Linked DNA regions of Homo sapiens: all the other regions are linked to region 3. Evidence: promoter capture Hi-C in 16 types of primary human blood cells and fetal thymus (Javierre and others, 2016). All regions are on one chromosome and are shown on one strand. The core of a region is centred on a gene start or on the middle of the fragment in contact, and the rest is flanking DNA. Distances in the headings are between cores, read along the strand shown.

Region 1 (2,700 bases), core at 79-2,578, 460 kb before region 3:
ATGTTCTCTGTCTTTATTGTATCAATGTCAATATTTGGTTGTGATAGTATATTATAGTTTTGCAAGAAGTTACTATTGAGATAAGTTGGGAAAAGGATACAAGTGTTCTCTGTGTATTATTTCTTTCAAGTGCTTATGAACCCACAATTATCTCAAAGGAAAAAATATTTAATTAAACAAAAAAATTCCAAGAGATAGGAGACTGGTTATCTTCCAAAGAATATCAGACTCACAACCGAATTCTCGAAAACAATAAAAGCCAGAAAAAAATTCTTTAAGTAATAGATTCAAACTGCTGAAGAAAAAAAAATAACTCATTATATAGGACTTGACCCAGCTAAACTCTCATTGAAGAGTAAAAACAAAATAGAAACTTCTAGTTGTGAGGACTAAGAAAATTTACCACCCAAGACTCTCCCTAAAAGAGGGATTGAAGTATGAACTTCAGTAAGAAGAAAACTGAACCCTGAATGAAGCAGGGGAAGAACTGAATCCATTACTTCAGCAAATATTTGTAGAGTGCCTGCTATGTGCCAGGTACTATGAACAAAATAGGCAGAATTTCCTGCCTGCTCTTATGGGACTTAAAATTCTAGTGGGAGACATACAATAAACAAACAAAAAAAAATGAGTAAGAAATACAGTATTTTAAATGTTCTGAAGTTTCACTGAGTCCTTTCTAGATGTAGATATCTTTTTATTTAGTCTTTTTAGGATTCATTGTTTCTTGAATTTGAGTATCTAGGTTAAAAAAAATGTTTAAAGGTCCTCCTCCATTTTCAGAAACTGATAGGTTACAACACAGAAAACTAGTAAGGATATAGAGTTTTTAAATAATGCAATTAACTAGTGTCATGTAACAAACATGTATGTATATGAAATCTTGTATCTACACATTAGAGAAAGCAATTCTCCTATGCATGTATAAAACATTCCAAAAATTGACAACATATAGCCTCAAATTACATGCAAAAGATACTGTAAATCAATATAACAGAGACCACATTACCATAAAATTAGAATACATAAAAAAACAAGAGAGATTAATCTATTTAATGTTCAAGTCTTTCCCAGCCCATCTAGTTCCACAGGGAACAGGGATTCAACTCACATTTAGTTCAGGCATGGGAGCCTCCATTCTCTCCCTTGAGCCTTCCTTCCTCTCCTTCCTTTTCCTTGTTGCTGTTTCTTCCAGCTCTGTTCCTAATCTTAATCTCTGGGGTGGGTTGTCAGTGATCAGATTTCCCTTCTGGATGAGACTAGCAGGGAGGGGAGGGATGGTGTAAAGGAGACAGAGGTTCAAGTATTAAAAAGAATCTGAAGCATTTATCCTGCTAATTGGTTTTCTCTTTGAATACCATCTCTGCTTCATTGTGCTCAGAAAACTTCTGGCTGCTTCCCTGAATTACAAGATTTCCTTCTGTTACCTTATCTTCAGTATATGCCCAACATCTAGTTGGGAGATGTGGAAAGTCTACTCTGAAACATAGATACATGCACACATTTTTATTTTTATCACAATGAAGTCATGTTCTACATACTGTTCTGAATTTCTTTTTTTCATAAAAATATATCATTGGCATCTCTCCATAACAATAAATATAAATCTATCTCACCTATAAATTATGGAATTAAATTTAAAAATTAAATTCAATTTTGTGGATATCTCGAAGATGAAAACCACCAAGCCATATTAAAAAATAAAACAAGTTTGCATATGTGTTTGTATATATACACACACGTACCATTTTCTCCTTTTATCTGCCATGGTTTTGCTCTCTGGAGTTTCAGTTATCTGTGGTCAATTGCAATGAGAAATAGGTGAGTAGGGTACAATAAGATATTTTGAGAGACAGAGATCACATTCACATAACTTTTATTACAGTATATTGTTATAATTGTTCTATTTTATGAGTTATTGTTGTTAATCTCTGACTATGCCTTATTTGTAAATTAAACTTTATCATTGGTATGTATGTATGAGGTAAAACATTACATTTGTTATTTGTACATATGGTTCAGTACTATCTGTGGTTTCAGGCATTTACTGGGGGTCTTGGAACGTATCCCCTGTGGATAAAGAGGGACTAGCGTGTGTGTGTGTGTGTGTGTGTGTGTGTGTGTGTGTGTGTTTCAAGGTGGGAAGATTCAATATTGGTTCATTGGTTCATTTAAGTTTTATTTATTGAGCATCTATTGAGCATCTACTATGTGGCAGGTACTACTGTAGGCACTGAGGATACAGCAGTGAGCAAAATAAGTAAATTTCTTTGCTATTACAGAGTTTATATTCTAGTGGAAGGAAACAGAAAGTAAACAAGAAAATTGTGTGAAATTTTATAAAATGATGAATTCTATGGAGAAAAAGAAAACAGAAAATGATGAATAAGGAAGTATTGAGACAGAGAAGCAATATTAGATAGAAGGGCCAGAGATGTTCTCAGAAATGTAAATGAACAAAAACATTAAGAAGGTAAAAAAGCAAGCCATGCAGTTAACTGAGAGAAATGTGTTTCAGGCCAAGGAAACAGCAAGTATAAAGGCACTCAGGTAGAAGCGTATATGTCCTATTAGAGAAATAGCAAGGAGACCAATGTTACTGAAGTAGAGTAAGTAGAAATGGGAAAAGAGAGAAACGAAGCCATTCTTAAATACATCAGCTTTTCCTCCAGGTGAAATGGAGAACTATTGGAAAGTTTG
Region 2 (2,705 bases), core at 58-2,557, 440 kb before region 3:
CAAAGACTTTAGACTTAGAATTTCCAGGTTTCTACTATACTCTCCCTCTGAACTAAATTGTAAATCTGGATGTCAGTATATTTTCCTAGATATTTATTAAAACACCTTAAAAATATTGGCTTTGGTTAGATTAAGGCTACTATGTAAGAACCAAATGTGAAATAAACAAGATCTCAACAGCTTTTTTGAATTGTTTGAATCCCACCTCCAACTACTTACTAAATGGATGATCTTGGGCATGTAATTTAATTTCTCTGTGCCATAGTTTTCTCATCTCTGAAATGGAAATAATAGAACCTATTGCATAAGTTTGTTGTGAGGTTTAAATTGGTTAATACATACAAAGAGCTAAGTTCACACAAAGGCACTCGGAAGATAGTAATGATATAGCTCATGATCTGAAGGAAAGAGGGCAGAGGCAGTATCATATACTGATTTATACTATGGCCTTTCAAGTTGGACAATCTTGAGTTTATATCCTGGCTCTAGTATTTATTAACTACGTAATTCAGGATAAGTTACATAACCTCTCTGAATCTTGATGTTCTCTCTAAATGAGGTTTAATAATGGCTACATTATGGAAATTTTGTGAGGATGAAATGAAAATCGTGACAATACAGAGTTAGTAAAATTCATTAGCACATGAAGAGTGATGAATAAATATTATTTTTGGTAGTGACGGTAATAAAGTAATAAGAGGTTACAGAGGTAAGATGACTAACACTAATTTTATGGATTCCTCATCTTTCCTTAGAAGGTAAATATGCCATACCCAGAAAGTGCTCATGGAGGCAGATCTACTAGTGATATTTCCTTCAAAAATGGAATGGAAAGATCTCTCTGGGATTGAAGGCTTTGGTGTGAAAATCAAGACAATTCAATAGAGTAAAGGGCTCCAAGGACCCAGATAAGGGCTAGAGACAGTGGCAGCTGAGCATCCTCAAGGGAAAATAAAAGGTACTTCTCTTCATAGATGGTGCCTGGAATCTGAAAGGGTGGGGCCTTCGGGAGATCTGCGATTAATGTCTGCTCGTTGCTGTATCTGAGGAACACTGGATATGGGTTGTTTGATTAATGTCTTGGCAGCAACATTTGGAGAAAAAAAAAAATAGATGTTTGATGATCCTCCTCCAACTCAGATTTTCCTACTTCCCTCATTATTCGACCCTTTTCTGTCAGTCCTAGGTTCACTTTATATTTTGAGCAGGTACATCTTTTTGACATGCAGCCAACACCATAGGCTGTAATTATAGTATTTTCTTCCTCCAGGATTCCCTGTGTTCCTTGTGAAGTGATATACGTGAGACTGAAAACTGTGAAAAAGGGATATAGTCTTCCCACTTCCTCTCCTCTAGACCTAGCACTGGCCCACTGGTCTTTGCACAACTTAGAAACTGAGACCATTTATTCAAGATATAGTGTTACCATAGGTCAGAACGTTATTGCAACAAATGTACAAAACTATGATGACTATGGTGAGATTGGTGCCCTAAAGCTGGGTAGAGTACAACCTACATAACTATTTGTGTCAGGTGCCTCTACCTGCTCCCACTGCCCTCTAACTTTATCTCCAACAATCATGCAAATAAAGATGTATTTATTTGTTTATATCCCATCAACTGGTGCCTACTGAATTTTCTCTTCTCTCTCAAGGCTCAACTTAAATACACTATTTGAAGAAGCCTCTAACATCCTTCTCTAGACTAAGTAAAATTCCTACTGTGCCCCCACCTCTTGCAGCTAGCACTATGCATGGTACACACTTCTGTCATTCAATTTATCATATCGGATGGCAGTCATTTGTTTACATGGCTGTCCCTCATTCTGAACTATGAGCTTCTGAAGCAAGACTACATGGGATGCTTATGCAAATGTAGATTTCTAAGTCTGACTGTTGATCTAAATCAGAATTGCTGGGCATAGAATCTAGAAATCTGCATTTTTAAATAAGACTCACCTGGGTAGTGTATGTCCCCTCCATTTTGAAGCTCACAGCTCCAGATGGCAACACACATATTTACTGCAAGTGGTAAAATATTGGACAATATGTTTTACTTGGAGAAAGACTTGGTGATTCATGTCTTCCCAATAATGAAATATTTGAGTTCCAAAATGTATTAGAAACTCTAGGATATGGCTATAGACTGAATGTTTATGTATTCCAAAATTCATATGCTGAAATCTTAACCCCCAAGCGATGGTATTAAGAGATGGACCTTTGGGAGGTGATGAGGCCATGAAGATAGAATCCTAATAAATGGGATTAATGCCCTCAAAAGAGAGACTCCAGAGAGTTCCCTTGCTCTTTCCACCATGTAAAGATGTAAGGACACGTGAAAGATGGCCATCTGCAAACCAGGAAGAGAGTCCTCATCAGACACCAAATCTGCTGGCCCCTTGATCTTGGACTTCCAGCCTCCAGAACTGTGAGAAGTAAATGTTTGTTGTTTAAGGCACTCAGTCTATGGTACTTTGTTATAGTAGACCAGATGGGCTAAGACAGATATATACATACATATGCATATTGTCTTCTGGAAAGAGCTATAATCTCAAGTCTATGGACTGGTCTGTGTGTTTGGCATGGGGAGACTTATGGAAAGAGATGGAGCGTACTCTTAAGTTTGAAGTGTTTCTAAAATATGCATGATGACAATATCCTGGGTTATTTCAAAAGCTGGCTGAGTTGGATATATTTTTCCCCAAG
Region 3 (2,700 bases), core at 5-2,504:
CTTATCTGAGAATTTTTTTATTTCTAGAGACAGAGGATCACTCTGTCACTCAGGTTGGAGTGCAGCAGCACAGTCATAGCTCACTGCAACCTCGAACTCCTGGGCTTAAGCAACCCTCTCACCTCAGTCTCTTAAGTAGCTAGGACTACAGGTGTACACCATCATGGCTGACTTTTTTTTTTTTCTTTTTTTTTTTTTTCTTGTTTGTTTGGTAGAGGTGGGGGCAGGGGTCTCACTTTGTTGCCCAGGCTGGTCTCGAACTTCTGGCCTTAAGCAATCCTCCCGCCTCCACCTCCCCAAATTCTGGGATTACAGGCATGAGCCAGTGTGCCCAGCACAAAATCTTTACCAACTTTAAAATATAATTTAAAAAAATCTCTTAAATGCCTTCCACATAGATATTGATTTTTCTTTCATTTCTCTTGTCTTGGTAAATCCTCTAGGAATGCTCTCTGAAAAGCAGCTTAATTCATCATGCAGTTGCCTTCATCACCATCACTTGTTGAAAAGTCTTATTAGTATGTAAAGCAGTTCTAATTTGGAGCTGTAAAATTGCTTCTAAAAACTCGTAATAGAATAAACTGAGAGTCATCCATAATTAGATTTTTTTAATAGGACTTCTAACTTGTTTTCATTATCCAGCTGTGTTTGAACTCAGCCAGCTGTTGATGGAACTGAGGTGGTTGTAAGGGTTGGGGAAAAGAAGAGGAAGCTCATCTCTGCAGAGTGGGTAGGGGAAGCTTTAGTTCTCAGTTTAAAACAGTGGTTCTCAAAGTGTGGTCTCCCAACCTGCAGCATCAGAGTCTCATGGGAACTTGTTAGAAATGATTTCTTGGGCCCTACTCCAGACCCACTGGATCCGGCCATCAGGTGAAGTTCAAAGAACTTGGTTCAGATGTAGTGTTCACTAAATTACAGACAGCAGTCAAGATTTTAGGAAGAGCTGGTTGAAAATAATTGCCTTGACTGGCTCTAGTGACCCCCCAAGGAACACATGCCACTTACATGTATGTTCTCTTCATTCATCATTTATGGGTATATTTGTATTACTCCACAGGGCTGACGATTTGGTATTAGACTTGCTAATGAGCAGCAGCCATGTGCTCCTGCTATCTGACAGTCGGTACAGTCACAAGTATATTGTATGCAGCAGAGAAGAGCTTAACAGCCAGCCTCCTTCCACATTCTGCTCTCAGGAAATAAGCAAGGGGAGGATCCAGAAGTGTCATTTGACACTGACGACAGAGTACTTATTTCCTATGCAAAAGAGCCCAGGCAGAAAGACAAACCTAAATAAGAATCTAACTTCTGTAAGAAGCTGTGAAGAGTGATGCTGGCAGCTGCCTTTGCAGACTCTAACTCCAGCAGCATGAATGTGTCCTTTGCTCACCTCCACTTTGCCGGAGGGTACCTGCCCTCTGATTCCCAGGACTGGAGAACCATCATCCCGGCTCTCTTGGTGGCTGTCTGCCTGGTGGGCTTCGTGGGAAACCTGTGTGTGATTGGCATCCTCCTTCACAATGCTTGGAAAGGAAAGCCATCCATGATCCACTCCCTGATTCTGAATCTCAGCCTGGCTGATCTCTCCCTCCTGCTGTTTTCTGCACCTATCCGAGCTACGGCGTACTCCAAAAGTGTTTGGGATCTAGGCTGGTTTGTCTGCAAGTCCTCTGACTGGTTTATCCACACATGCATGGCAGCCAAGAGCCTGACAATCGTTGTGGTGGCCAAAGTATGCTTCATGTATGCAAGTGACCCAGCCAAGCAAGTGAGTATCCACAACTACACCATCTGGTCAGTGCTGGTGGCCATCTGGACTGTGGCTAGCCTGTTACCCCTGCCGGAATGGTTCTTTAGCACCATCAGGCATCATGAAGGTGTGGAAATGTGCCTCGTGGATGTACCAGCTGTGGCTGAAGAGTTTATGTCGATGTTTGGTAAGCTCTACCCACTCCTGGCATTTGGCCTTCCATTATTTTTTGCCAGCTTTTATTTCTGGAGAGCTTATGACCAATGTAAAAAACGAGGAACTAAGACTCAAAATCTTAGAAACCAGATACGCTCAAAGCAAGTCACAGTGATGCTGCTGAGCATTGCCATCATCTCTGCTCTCTTGTGGCTCCCCGAATGGGTAGCTTGGCTGTGGGTATGGCATCTGAAGGCTGCAGGCCCGGCCCCACCACAAGGTTTCATAGCCCTGTCTCAAGTCTTGATGTTTTCCATCTCTTCAGCAAATCCTCTCATTTTTCTTGTGATGTCGGAAGAGTTCAGGGAAGGCTTGAAAGGTGTATGGAAATGGATGATAACCAAAAAACCTCCAACTGTCTCAGAGTCTCAGGAAACACCAGCTGGCAACTCAGAGGGTCTTCCTGACAAGGTTCCATCTCCAGAATCCCCAGCATCCATACCAGAAAAAGAGAAACCCAGCTCTCCCTCCTCTGGCAAAGGGAAAACTGAGAAGGCAGAGATTCCCATCCTTCCTGACGTAGAGCAGTTTTGGCATGAGAGGGACACAGTCCCTTCTGTACAGGACAATGACCCTATCCCCTGGGAACATGAAGATCAAGAGACAGGGGAAGGTGTTAAATAGATTTAAGTTTCAAAGCAAAACAAACTGTGATTATTGTATTTACTTGTACTGCTGCTTATCAATATTGCTGACTTTACAAACTGATATAATTATTACCATTAGGAATTATA
Region 4 (2,700 bases), core at 155-2,654, 310 kb after region 3:
GGAGAATCGCTTGAACCCGGGAGGCGGAGGTTGCAGTGAGCCGAAATCCAGCCACTGCACTCCAGCCTGGGAGACACAGCGAGACATTGTTTCAAAAAAAAAAGGTTATAAAACAAAATGTTGATACATCTGTTACCTCTTTCAAGCCTCCCAATAACATTTCTACTAACACCACCCAAAATATTTTTAAAAGACAGGTCTCTCATTCTTTTCGGTCCCTCATACTACACCCCAATTATCTTCAGGTGTCCTCTCAATCTTACAAAAACATTTACAAAACTGTCCTCTCAATGGCACAAGAATACTTACAAATCTCTTATTCTTTCTACCGCTCCTTTTATTCCTCCAACACCACCTGTATCTAAAAATCCCTACATACTGTTAGGTATACTCCTCCACCAATTAATGCTGCATACCAGTGTAGCCCTTTCAACCTTCAACTAAACTTACAGAAACCTCTTTTTTCCAACCTCTATGTATCTAAAAGTCATCAGTTCCCCTAGCACTATCAAGCCCTCAATAATACTTTAAAATCCCTTAATATCCTTGCTATCACACTTATCACCTCCCCAATAATTTCTAAAACCCTTCAATGCCCACACATCCTTTTCATCTACTCCATAGTATTTTTCAAATCCTTCAATATTCTTGATCCCTCAGAACTTACCAATAATCGCTATACAGTTTCAATGTCCCTGCTATCCGCTTCTGCCCTCATATTTCGAAAATGCCCTCGATATTTTGCTTCTAGACCTTTCAGTCCCGGAATAATAATGTTTATCAAACCCTTGATATTCTGCTATTCCCTTCGACATCTCAATATTCACATTTTAAAAATCCCTCAAGAGCCCCGTTACCTCTCTCTCAGTTCTCAAACAGCAATGTTTTAAATTCCCTCACGGCCCCTGCTACCCCTTCCAGCACCCCGATATTTGCGTTTGAAAAGCCTTCGCTGTCCTTGCCTGCCCCCCCAGTCCCCATATTCACGGCGCCTCTCCGTCCCCAGCGCTCCTCTCCCACCCTCACCCCCACCACAATGGTGATAGTACTACAGGGAAGGCGTCGCCGGGACCTCCCGGCCGCGGCCCCTCAGCGCCGCCCCCCACGCCACCTCCCCTCCCCCACGCCCCCGCGAGCCCCCAACGCCCACGTTCGCCGGCCCCGGCCCAGCCCGGCTCACTCACATCGGCTCCAGTAACTTGGCCAGCCAGGACTTGAGGGCATCCACATCCTCTATGAGCATGGTGCAGGGAAGGCGGGCTCGGCCGCCGCTCTTCTTCAGGCCTGCCGTGGGTCTCCACTACGCCGCCCCCTCACGTTCCCTTCACAGCTCCCGGTGCCCCAGCCCACCGGGCATCTTAGGAGACTTCAACCTACTCCCCCGGCCGGGGCCTAACAGGAACTAACCCAAGAGCCCTCACTCAACCTAGCCCGAAGGCTGAGGTGGGCGGGAGACAGTGCCGAGTGGCAGGCCTGAGAACCAGTAAGAGAGAGGGGGCCCTGAGGGCAAGACCAATGAAAAGGCTCGCTCGCCCCGCCGGCAGGCGGTACCCAGTCAGGGAGGAGAGATATAGCAAGGTAGGTGGAGAGCTTAAGTGAACTCCTGGTGCAAGATGGTATCTTGGAAAAGGTGCTTTGCCTCTTAAAGGGGCAGCGGCGCCTTTTTTTGACCACGCCGCCGCCCGCCGCGGAATACCGGTGTCTGCTGCTGGGAGTGCCTGGGGGAACCCGGCGAGCCCCTCAGCCTGGTTCCTTCCTCTCGTTTTTCTTGGAAACACACACTCGTGTCCCGAAATGACTCAGCTGTAGTAAATCTGCAACACAACGTGCAATACGTTCACGTTCGACACATTGCACAGAATGCAAAATTTTACTTTTTTTCTTTACACACTCATGTTGATTGGCACTCACGTTTGTATTTTCTGCTGCTCTGCTTTAATTACGCAGAATGTTTCTGACAACCATGCCTTGGAATCCAGTAATCGTCATTTTTAAAACGTGGCGCACGGATGTAAAAGGCTGAGGCCATTTCAATTTTGCTAGTACTATTAATAAATGTTGCTTTATTTAGGAAGAAAAATGACTCCAATAGTTTGTTTTTAATTATCTTTTCATTGTATATCTAAAATTCAGTGGTTGGGGGACGGGAAGGGAGAATTTTAATCAGCAAAGAAGGATTACAAAAAAATTTTTAAGACAAATTAGAAACTACTGAAATAGTCAACTTACTTTCTAGTAGGTGAGAAATTCTTTCTGGAGTTTTGAAATCACTGATTTAGCACTGATGTTAAAATGTTTACCCAATAACATATACTGAGTCCCTGCAATTGCCAGCACTGAGTAAGGCACTAGGAGTCCAATGCTGAGCAAAACAGAGCTTCTCCTCTTAAGATGATGAACAGTTTATGGGGTTATGCATTGTAATAACATTTTGAAAAATACCTAATGAGCACGCACCTCATATAAAAGAAATGGATCAACCTCAAATAAACAGACATCCTATATATACATAGAACAGGTATAGGCAAACTTCTGCAAAGGATCAGATACTAAATATTTTGGTTTTGTGAGCCTTGAGGTATCTATGGCAACTACTCGTCATACAATGTCTTGGCTTAAAATTAACCAGGGACAATATGTAAATGGAATGATTGTGGCTGTATTACAAACATTTATTAAAATTATATAAAATTTTAAATT
Region 5 (2,700 bases), core at 13-2,512, 420 kb before region 3:
TTGTCCAACCCCATCAAAAAGTGGGCGAAGGACATGAACAGACACTTCTCAAAAGAAGACATTTATGCAGCCAAAAAACACATGAAAAAATGCTTATCATCACTGGCCATCAGAGAAATGCAAATCAAAACCACAATGAGATATCATCTCACACCAGTTAGAATGGCAATCATTAAAAAGTCAGGAAACAACAGGTGCTGGAGAGGATGTGGAGAAATAGGAACACTTTTACACTGTTGGTGGGACTGTAAACTAGTTCAACCATTGTGGAAGTCAGTGTGGCGATTCCTCAGGGATCTAGAACTAGAAATACCATTTGACCCAGCCATCCCATTACTGGGTATATACCCAAATGACTGTAAATCATGCTGCTATAAAGACACATGCACACATATATTTATTGCAGCATTATTCACAATAGCAAAGACTTGGAACCAACCCAAATGTCCAAGAATGATAGACTTGATTAAGAAAATGTGGCACATATACACCATGGAATACTATGCAGCCATAAAAAACGATGAGTTCATGTCCTTTGTAGTGACATGGATGAAATTGGAAATCATCATTCTCAGTAAACTATCACAAGAACAAAAAACCAAACACCGCATGTTCTCACTCATAGGTGGGAATTGAACAATGAGACCACATGGACACAGGAAGGGGAACATCACACTCTGGGGACTGTTGTGGGGTGGGGGGAGGGGGAGGGATAGCATTGGGAGATACACCTAATGCTAGATGACAAGTTAGTGGGTGCAGTGCACCAGCATGGCACATGTATACATATGTAACGAACCTGCACAATGTGCACATGTACCCTAAAACTTAAAGTATAATAATAAAAGAAAAAAAAAACTTAAAAAAAAAAAAGAACTTCCGTTTGTCACGATAGGTCACATGTTCTTAAATGGGTCTCATTTTGCTTCTCTCTGGAAGCTTGGTAATCTCCCTGAAGTAGAAATTTCAGAATAAAGTGAGGTGGCCCTTAATGGTATCCCAAGTGTGGTTGATAATAGGTTTTATTTTTTTCTCTTGTTTTTTTCTCAAGAATCAGGTGTCATAGACAAAATACTTATCTGAGAGAGAATGGGAATAAAAACTCCCTAATAATCATTTTCAAAATCTTTTGATTTTTTAAAGAAATAATTAAGGTGCAGCTTTGACCTGCTCTGTAATCAGAGGATTGGGTTCCCTGGATACAGACTTTGTGCTATTCTACTTAACCAAAGAGCAACTTGGGCGTTTATCCAGGATATTCCTCAAGGATCTAATATGTTAATTGAAAAAAAATCTTAGGAAATAACTTTACAACCAAAAAATTCATCTGGTTGGAAACACATGGGATTATTTTCCAATCCCTGTTACTTGAAATCTCAGCTGCTGAAGCAAAGGATATTAAAAATATATATAAGAATTTCTCAAAGAGCAAACAGAATTAGTTACAATTCCAAGGTTGAATACAACCAGCTTTAATTAAAACAGCATATGATATAATTCCCACGTGAATATTTTAGCATGCTTAGTGCTGGTACAGGTAAAGAAACAGTTTCCTGGGCTGTCCTTCCAGATTCTCAAAGCTTCTTTGATACCTCCACAGCTGTAATATCTCTGCTAGATATAGCTTTCTCCTCTGCCCCCTTGCTCAAGGAAGTCTTCTTGATCTACTTCAGCATTTGATATCTCTCTGCATATACTAGGTGGTTAGTTTTCCTTTTCTCACTGCTCTTTGACCTTGTTTATCATGATCACAAATGGGATGTATATAAAGAAGAAGAAAGCTAGGAGAAGATTCAGCCACCTGGGCCACTAGAGTCTTCAGTCTCTTCATGGAATCTATTGTCCAAAGATCTGTTTGTTAGTCTGTTCTCATGCTGCTAATAAAGACATACCCAACACTTTGTAAAGGAAATATAATTTATAAAGGAAAGAAGTTTAGTGGACTCACAGTTCCACATGGCTGGGGAGGCCTCACAGTCATGGCAGAAGGCAAAGGAGAAGCAAAGGCCTGTCTTACGTGGCAGCAGACAAGAAAAAGTGCCAAGCAAAAAGGGGAAAAGCTCCTTTTAAAACCATGAGACCTCCTGAGAACTCACTATCACAAGAACAGCAGTATAGGGGTAACCACACCCATGATTTAATTACCTCCCACTGGGACCCTCCCACGACATGTGGGGATTATGGGAACTACCATTCAAGATGAGATTTGGGTGGGGACACAGCCAAACCATATCAATTTAATATCTTTGGTAATTCAAATTATCCTTTCAAACCAGGATAGAAAGCTGAGGGACAGGCTGATACCTTGATAAACCTTAAATACAATAGGCCTTGAATTCAAGAATCCCAGTTCCCTGGAGATGACTTTGACCTAATTTAAGGAAAACAAACAAATAAAAGGGAGTGATGTTTGTAAATAGTTACTGAATGAATGGGTGGGCCAATCTAAACGATTCAGTTCAAACATACTAAGGAAGGTTCAAAGAGTTTGAAATTCTCCTGGTGTTTCAGGAAGAATAACAGGAAATATTTCAGATTATTGCTGATGACCAGACATGGATATGCTGCTGGAGGTTGGGGGAATCCATTCACTCACACATGTGCATGCATCCACACATATGCCATGCGTGCACTCACACACAATTCTCTTTTAAATTAGTCTTCTACATTATATAGGAAAGTAACTTCTTTATTAATTGT
Region 6 (2,853 bases), core at 248-2,747, 360 kb after region 3:
TGTACCACAATTTACTTAACCATTCTCTATTAATGGATATTTGAATTGTTTCCTGCCTTTTTCTTTTAAAAGCAGCACTGCCACATCTCTTTAGTTCCTAATGTTGGAATTTTGTCTGAGAAGTTCTTGGGAACAGTATTAGGGACATACATGTTTTCCTATTCTTAATGCAACTTTTCTCCCTGTTAATTTGAGCAAATTCTGGCGTGAGGGACATGGATGTTATAAATTGCAAAATAGTTTCAACATTTAAAATGGTTATAATATTTAGCTGTCATCCATATGACTGCAAATTCTATAAAGGCAGGTTATAAGTACATATATGAATAAAGAGGGGTGGGTGGGAATTATGTGGAAAGGAAAAGTGTGTTCCTTAGCTAGAGCAAGAAGCTGCAAATTCTTTGTTGCCATCTGAGAATTTGGGTCTAAAATTGCTTAATCTTTTGGATTTTTTCAAGTGAAATTAGAACTATCCTTTTACTTTGTCTTCATAACTACTATTTTAAATAGATGTATAGTACCCATTCTTGTTCTTGTAACATATTTTGTTAAATCATTTTTTCTATCATTGAAAGCTTTAGTTGTTTCCAGGCTTTCCTAGTATAATTAACTCAGCATTGGGTAGACTTGTTTAAGAAAAAATAATTAGTTGTTGTTGAGTCTGAGTTACATGAACATTTTGTGGCTTTTGCTGTGGATTCCTATATTTTCTTCAAGGAGTACAATGTCACAAACAATGTATTAGTGTACTCATGTCATAATATTGACAGATTTAGTTATTATAATTATTAAAAATTATTTTTCCGGGACGGGCACGGTGGCTCATGCCTGTAATGCCAGCACTTTGGGAGGCAGAGGTGCGTGGATCACCTGGGGTCAGGAGTTCAAGACCAGCCTGGCCAACATGGTGAAACCCTGTCTCTACTAAAAATACAGAAATTAGCCAGGCGTGGTGGTGCATGCCTGTAATCCCAGCTACATGGGAGGCTGAGGCAGGAATCGCTGGAACCTGGGAGGCGGAGGTTGCAGTGAGCCGAGATCATGCCATTGCACTCCAGCTTGAGTAACAAGAGCAGAACTCCATCTCAAAAAAAAAATTATTTTTCCTCTAGTAGGTATAAAATAATGTGTTTTGTTTTACTTCATATGTATTTTATTTATATTCTTTTCTTTATTTTTTGAGACGGGGTCTCCCTCTGTCACCCAGGCTGGAGTGCAGTGGCACGATCTTGGCTCACTACAACCTCCACCTCTCGGGTTCAAGCAATTCTCCCGCCTCAGCCTTCCAAATAGCTGGGACTACAGGCGCATGCCACCACGCCTGGCTAATTTTTTGTATTTTAGTAGAGACGGGGTTTCACCATGTTGCCCAGGCTGGTCGCGAACTCCTAAGCTCAGGCAATCTGCCTGCCTCAGCATCCCAAAGTGCTGGGTTTACAGGCGTTAGCCACCGCGCTCAGCCTGTATTCATTTTTTAATTGACAGAAATTGTATTTATGGTACGCAATATGTTTTGAAATATATATACATTGTGAAATGGCTAAATTGAGGTAATTAACAAATTTATACCTTACGTACTTACCATTTTCTGTGGTGAGAAGAGTTAAAATTTAAATCAGGTGCAGTGGTATGCACCTGTAGAGCCAGCTACTTGGGAGGCTGGGACCTCAGGAGGCTTGCCTGAGCCCAGGAGCTTGAGCCTGTAGAATGCTATGATAGCACCTGTGAATAGCCTCTACACTCTAGCCTTGGCAACATAGCAAGGCTCTGTCTCTTAAAAAAATCTACACAGCAATTTTCAAGTATAAAATACATTGTTATTTCCTATAGTCACCATATTGTACAATATAGCTCTTGAATTTATTTCCATATATTTTTGATTACTAGCTTCTCAGGGCTTAAAATATTAACATAGTTTTAATTCTAATGGTCACAATGAATTACTTCACCTTTTATATTGATTTTTTTCTTATGCAGGAAATTCTTGGTGCATCACTTTCTGCACCTTTAACATCATACAAGGTGATCTATGTTCTCCCAATGCTAACTATTAAGGAGGATAAAGGTAAAGAGTTTATTTATTTCTAGAAATATTTTGATAAACACATTTTGGTTCTAGTTATTAATTCCACACTTTGTTTTCTAAGGCACTGGTGTGGTTACAAGTGTTCCTTCCGACTCCCCTGATGATATTGCTGCCCTCAGAGACTTGAAGAAAAAGCAAGTAAGTATCTGAGTTTCATGTTTGTATTTCGTCCTCACCATCTCATTGCTTAGGTGCTGCTGAACTACGCTGTGGGACTAGGCTAAAAAGCTATGCATTTATCTTTAAACTGCTATCTCTAACTTGTTTCTTGATGTTAATATATTTTCTGTGGTTTGAATTTTAAATATGTTCACAGAATTTTGAAAAAGCTTTCTGATATTCACATTTTCATTGAAATCTGGCATATGAACCTCAATTTAAGTGATATGTGTATGTCTATGTACATTTTTGCTTTTGGTTGTGTGGTTTCATTTAGGCTATTCACTATAACTTTAGCTATTAAATTTTTGAAGGTTACAGATCCCTTTTGAGATATTTGGCAAAGTTAGAAAATTGCTCTCTATGGAGAGGAGAACAAATAGAAACTTTAAAGAAACTTTTAAGAAACTTTGGAGATTGCTTCTCTCAATGATTCTCCCAGTAAAGTGTTGATCATTAGTGTTAACTTGCAAATTTTTCTGTAGGCCTTACGAGCAAAATATGGAATTAGAGATGACATGGTCTTGCCATTTGAGCCGGTGAGTACATAGATAATTCAGAATATTCACATCCATCTCTTTATCAGAGAAAAAGAAGAGCTAACATGT
Region 7 (2,828 bases), core at 76-2,575, 380 kb after region 3:
ATCCAGGCTACTTTGGGAGGCTGAGGCAGGAGAATCGCTTGAACCCGGGAGGCGGAGGTTGCAGTGGGCTGAGATTGCATTGCACTCCAGCTTAGGCAACAAGAGTGAAACTCTGTCTCAAAAAAAAATGTTGAGTATGTAGGAAGCTTTTCCAAGATATTTCCTCTGTATTTGGTATTCCATTCTTATTAACTGAGACAGAGTCTTGCTCTGTCACCCAGGCTGGAGTACAGTGGCATGATCTTGGCTCACTGCAACCTCCATCTCCAGGGTTCAAGCGATTCTTGTGCCTCAGCCTCTCAAATAGCTGGGATTACAGGCATGTGCCTGCACGCTTGGCTAATTTTTGTATTTCTAGTAGAGACGGGGTTTTGCCTTGTTGGCCAGGCTGGTCTTGAACTCTTGGCCTCAAGTGATCCACCCTCCTTGGCCTTCCAAAGTGCTGGGATTATAGGCATGAGCCACCATGCCTGGCCTGTATTTGGTATTCCTAAATGTGTCTTGAACCTGGGAACATTGATTTTTTCAGAAAATTGTTTTTTTGTCTGGCCTCAGTCCTATTACATTTTATTATTATCGTGTCAAGAGAAGAAATGCACTATCCTGAAAGAACCATTCATTTCTTATATAATTAGTCATTGGTCATCATGGTACTTCTTTTTATTGGTCATGGCTAACTCAGTTTGTGTTCTCAGTATTTTGACTGGACACCAAAGCCAAAGACGGAACTGTATCCAAATAATATAGTTAGTCTGTTTCTTACAAGATATATAAGCAATTATGAAACCACTTTATGTATATATTAGGATTGAATAAATAAGTAAACAGGTAGATAATGAGAACCTCTGCCTCACAGAGCTCACTATCAGAAAAAGAAGCTATAAATAAGTAAAGAGAAAATGCTAGAATGAGCCCTATGGGGTCAGATTGGATTTGGTGATAAAAGTATGAGCTCATGATTTTTATTTTGTGTATAGATATGTAGATATAAAACTAAACAGCTGGGTGTGGTGGCTCACACTTGTAATCCCAGCACTTTGGGAGGCTGAGGTGGGCAGTTTACCTGAGATCGGGAGTTTCAGACCAGCCTGACCAACATGGAGAAACCCTGTCTCTATTAAAAGTACAAAATTAGCCGGGCGTGGTGGCGCATGCCTGTAATCCCAGCTACTCAGGAGGCTGAGGCAGTAGAATTGCTTGAATCCAAGAGGCGGAGGTTGCACTGAGCCGAGATCGCGCCATTGCATTCTATCTTGGGCAACAAGAGCGAAACTCCATCTCAAACAAACAAACAAAAAACATAGATATGTGTATGTATGGGTTAGTATACAAATATGAACTGTTAAGTGGAAAAGGCAAAGTGCAGAACCTGAATGCTTTGATTGGACACCAAAGCTAAAGACGGAAATAACTACATAATGAGTTCCCTCTTTTTTTTTTTTTTTTTTTTGCAACCCTATAGTGTTCCATTGTAGGGATATCCTACAGTTTAATTGATGGACATTTAGGTTCTTTTTTTCAATATTTTAGAATGGAAGATTTTGGTAGTACTGAGAGATGAGAATTGAAAAAGTAAAGTTTTATTAGTGATAAACTTGTAAGAACCTAGTTTCAAAACTGAGAAAAATTCATATGCATTTGTACACATAAGGCACCAGTGTGTATTCTCATGTATTAAAATGTATTTTGCTACCTCTAAATGAGGCTGAAATGTTGATAAGAAAACCACAATGAAAGGTGTGTCTTTATCCCCACTTTATCATTTTCTATCTCTGCCTCATTAAAGATCACTTTATCTCATTAACTCAACATGCCTGAGAAGAAACACATATTGGTGCTTAGTGGATGCAAATCAATATGGATGGTTCGAATATTTTAACATCACGGTTAGGGATGCTACTTTTTGGTGATTTTAATTTTTGTTGTTGATCCAGGACAGTCCTTTAAAGCATTTGTTAATTTATATATGGGCTTTGCAAGGTATCCAACTGGACACATAGGACACAGTTGATACTCAGTAACCATATTTTTAATGCATTGAATTTTTTTTTCTTCTTCCAGGAATGCGTTTGGCTCTGGCTGATGCTGGTGACACTGTAGAAGATGCCAACTTTGTGGAAGCCATGGCAGATGCAGGTATTCTCCGTCTGTACACCTGGGTAGAGTGGGTGAAAGAAATGGTTGCCAACTGGGACAGCCTAAGAAGTGGTCCTGCCAGCACTTTCAATGATAGAGTTTTTGCCAGGTAATCTGTAGATCCCAATCATTTTGTGTTTTAGAGTTACTTAGTCCTGGTGCATTTTTGTTTTCTTTTTCTTTTCTTTTCTTTTTTTTTTTTAATAAAATAAACTAATGATAATAATAGCTAGTGTTCATTGAAGGCTTACTTGTGCCGGGTACTATGCTAAGTATTTTGTGTCCATTATCTGACTTTAACCTCAAAGCAACCTTATTTAATACAGATATTATTAGCTCTATTTTATAAATAAAGAAACTGAAGCTTAGAACAATTAAGTATTTCCTTAAATGCCTTAAAGCTAGTAGTTGCAAACTTGGGATATGAACTTGCTTCTGTCTGTCTTGAAAGTCTGTTCTCATAACCATTTTACCATGTTGTCTTGTTTTCGAGTAGGGCAAAATGGTTAAAGGAAAAGTAGATTAAAAGAAAAGGATAAATATCTTTGGAGTCATCCTACGCACTGGTATTATAAAGATGAATGAGACCTGATCCTTATTGTCTAGCAAGAGAGACAAACACCCAGTTTCTAAGCACAATAATAGAGACAAGGAGAATTCAGAGATGTCATGTGACTTCTGGGTTTCTTTTT

What was found. The method cuts DNA at HindIII sites, captures the fragments that hold promoters and counts their contacts. A CHiCAGO score of 5 or more calls a contact.
Region 1: a contact is called between a fragment that was not itself captured here and the fragment with the promoter of GPR151 in region 3, in 3 of 17 cell types (naive CD4 T cells, total CD4 T cells and naive CD8 T cells). The highest score is 6.7, in naive CD4 T cells.
Region 2: a contact is called between a fragment that was not itself captured here and the fragment with the promoter of GPR151 in region 3, in 5 of 17 cell types (total CD8 T cells, total CD4 T cells, naive CD4 T cells and 2 more). The highest score is 10.2, in total CD8 T cells.
Region 4: a contact is called between the fragment with the promoter of RBM27 here and the fragment with the promoter of GPR151 in region 3, in 9 of 17 cell types (activated CD4 T cells, monocytes, total CD8 T cells and 6 more). The highest score is 11.6, in activated CD4 T cells.
Region 5: a fragment that was not itself captured here is called in contact with the fragment with the promoter of GPR151 in region 3 in 1 of 17 cell types (naive CD8 T cells); the score reaches 5.1 in naive CD8 T cells.
Region 6: a contact is called between a fragment that was not itself captured here and the fragment with the promoter of GPR151 in region 3, in 1 of 17 cell types (total B cells). The highest score is 5.2, in total B cells.
Region 7: a fragment that was not itself captured here is called in contact with the fragment with the promoter of GPR151 in region 3 in 1 of 17 cell types (activated CD4 T cells); the score reaches 6.3 in activated CD4 T cells.

The regions. Positions count from the first base shown.
Region 1 is chr5:146,978,991-146,981,690 of GRCh38, reverse strand. It overlaps a transcript of PPP2R2B not described here. Among named protein-coding and RNA genes, the nearest start is that of PPP2R2B-IT1, 61 kb to the right of the region's middle. The HindIII fragment of the contact is 8,576 bases long and covers 1-2,700 here.
Region 2 is chr5:146,956,464-146,959,168 of GRCh38, reverse strand. It overlaps a transcript of PPP2R2B not described here. Among named protein-coding and RNA genes, the nearest start is that of PPP2R2B-IT1, 38 kb to the right of the region's middle. The HindIII fragment of the contact is 2,889 bases long and covers 1-2,705 here.
Region 3 is chr5:146,514,744-146,517,443 of GRCh38, reverse strand. It overlaps GPR151 (G protein-coupled receptor 151), which reads left to right and starts at 1,254. Exons shown (of 1, transcript NM_194251.3): 1 at 1,254-2,700. The coding sequence starts at 1,331. The coding sequence ends at 2,590. The HindIII fragment of the contact is 3,538 bases long and covers 743-2,700 here.
Region 4 is chr5:146,202,309-146,205,008 of GRCh38, reverse strand. It overlaps RBM27 (RNA binding motif protein 27), which reads right to left and starts at 1,404. Exons shown (of 21, transcript NM_018989.2): 1 at 1,185-1,404. The coding sequence starts at 1,243. It overlaps RBM27-POU4F3 (RBM27-POU4F3 readthrough), which reads right to left and starts at 1,404. Exons shown (of 20, transcript NM_001414499.1): 1 at 1,185-1,404. The coding sequence starts at 1,243. RefSeq lists enhancers at 1,189-1,348, 1,819-1,968. The HindIII fragment of the contact is 5,706 bases long and covers 1-2,700 here.
Region 5 is chr5:146,931,835-146,934,534 of GRCh38, reverse strand. It overlaps a transcript of PPP2R2B not described here. Among named protein-coding and RNA genes, the nearest start is that of PPP2R2B-IT1, 14 kb to the right of the region's middle. The HindIII fragment of the contact is 641 bases long and covers 942-1,582 here.
Region 6 is chr5:146,153,105-146,155,957 of GRCh38, reverse strand. It overlaps LARS1 (leucyl-tRNA synthetase 1), which reads left to right. Exons shown (of 32, transcript NM_020117.11): 11 at 1,978-2,065; 12 at 2,148-2,224; 13 at 2,731-2,784. Among named protein-coding and RNA genes, the nearest start is that of LARS1, 28 kb to the left of the region's middle. The HindIII fragment of the contact is 1,840 bases long and covers 578-2,417 here.
Region 7 is chr5:146,132,315-146,135,142 of GRCh38, reverse strand. It overlaps LARS1 (leucyl-tRNA synthetase 1), which reads left to right. Exons shown (of 32, transcript NM_020117.11): 23 at 2,062-2,245. Among named protein-coding and RNA genes, the nearest start is that of PLAC8L1, 28 kb to the right of the region's middle. RefSeq lists an enhancer at 1,815-1,984. The HindIII fragment of the contact is 2,354 bases long and covers 149-2,502 here.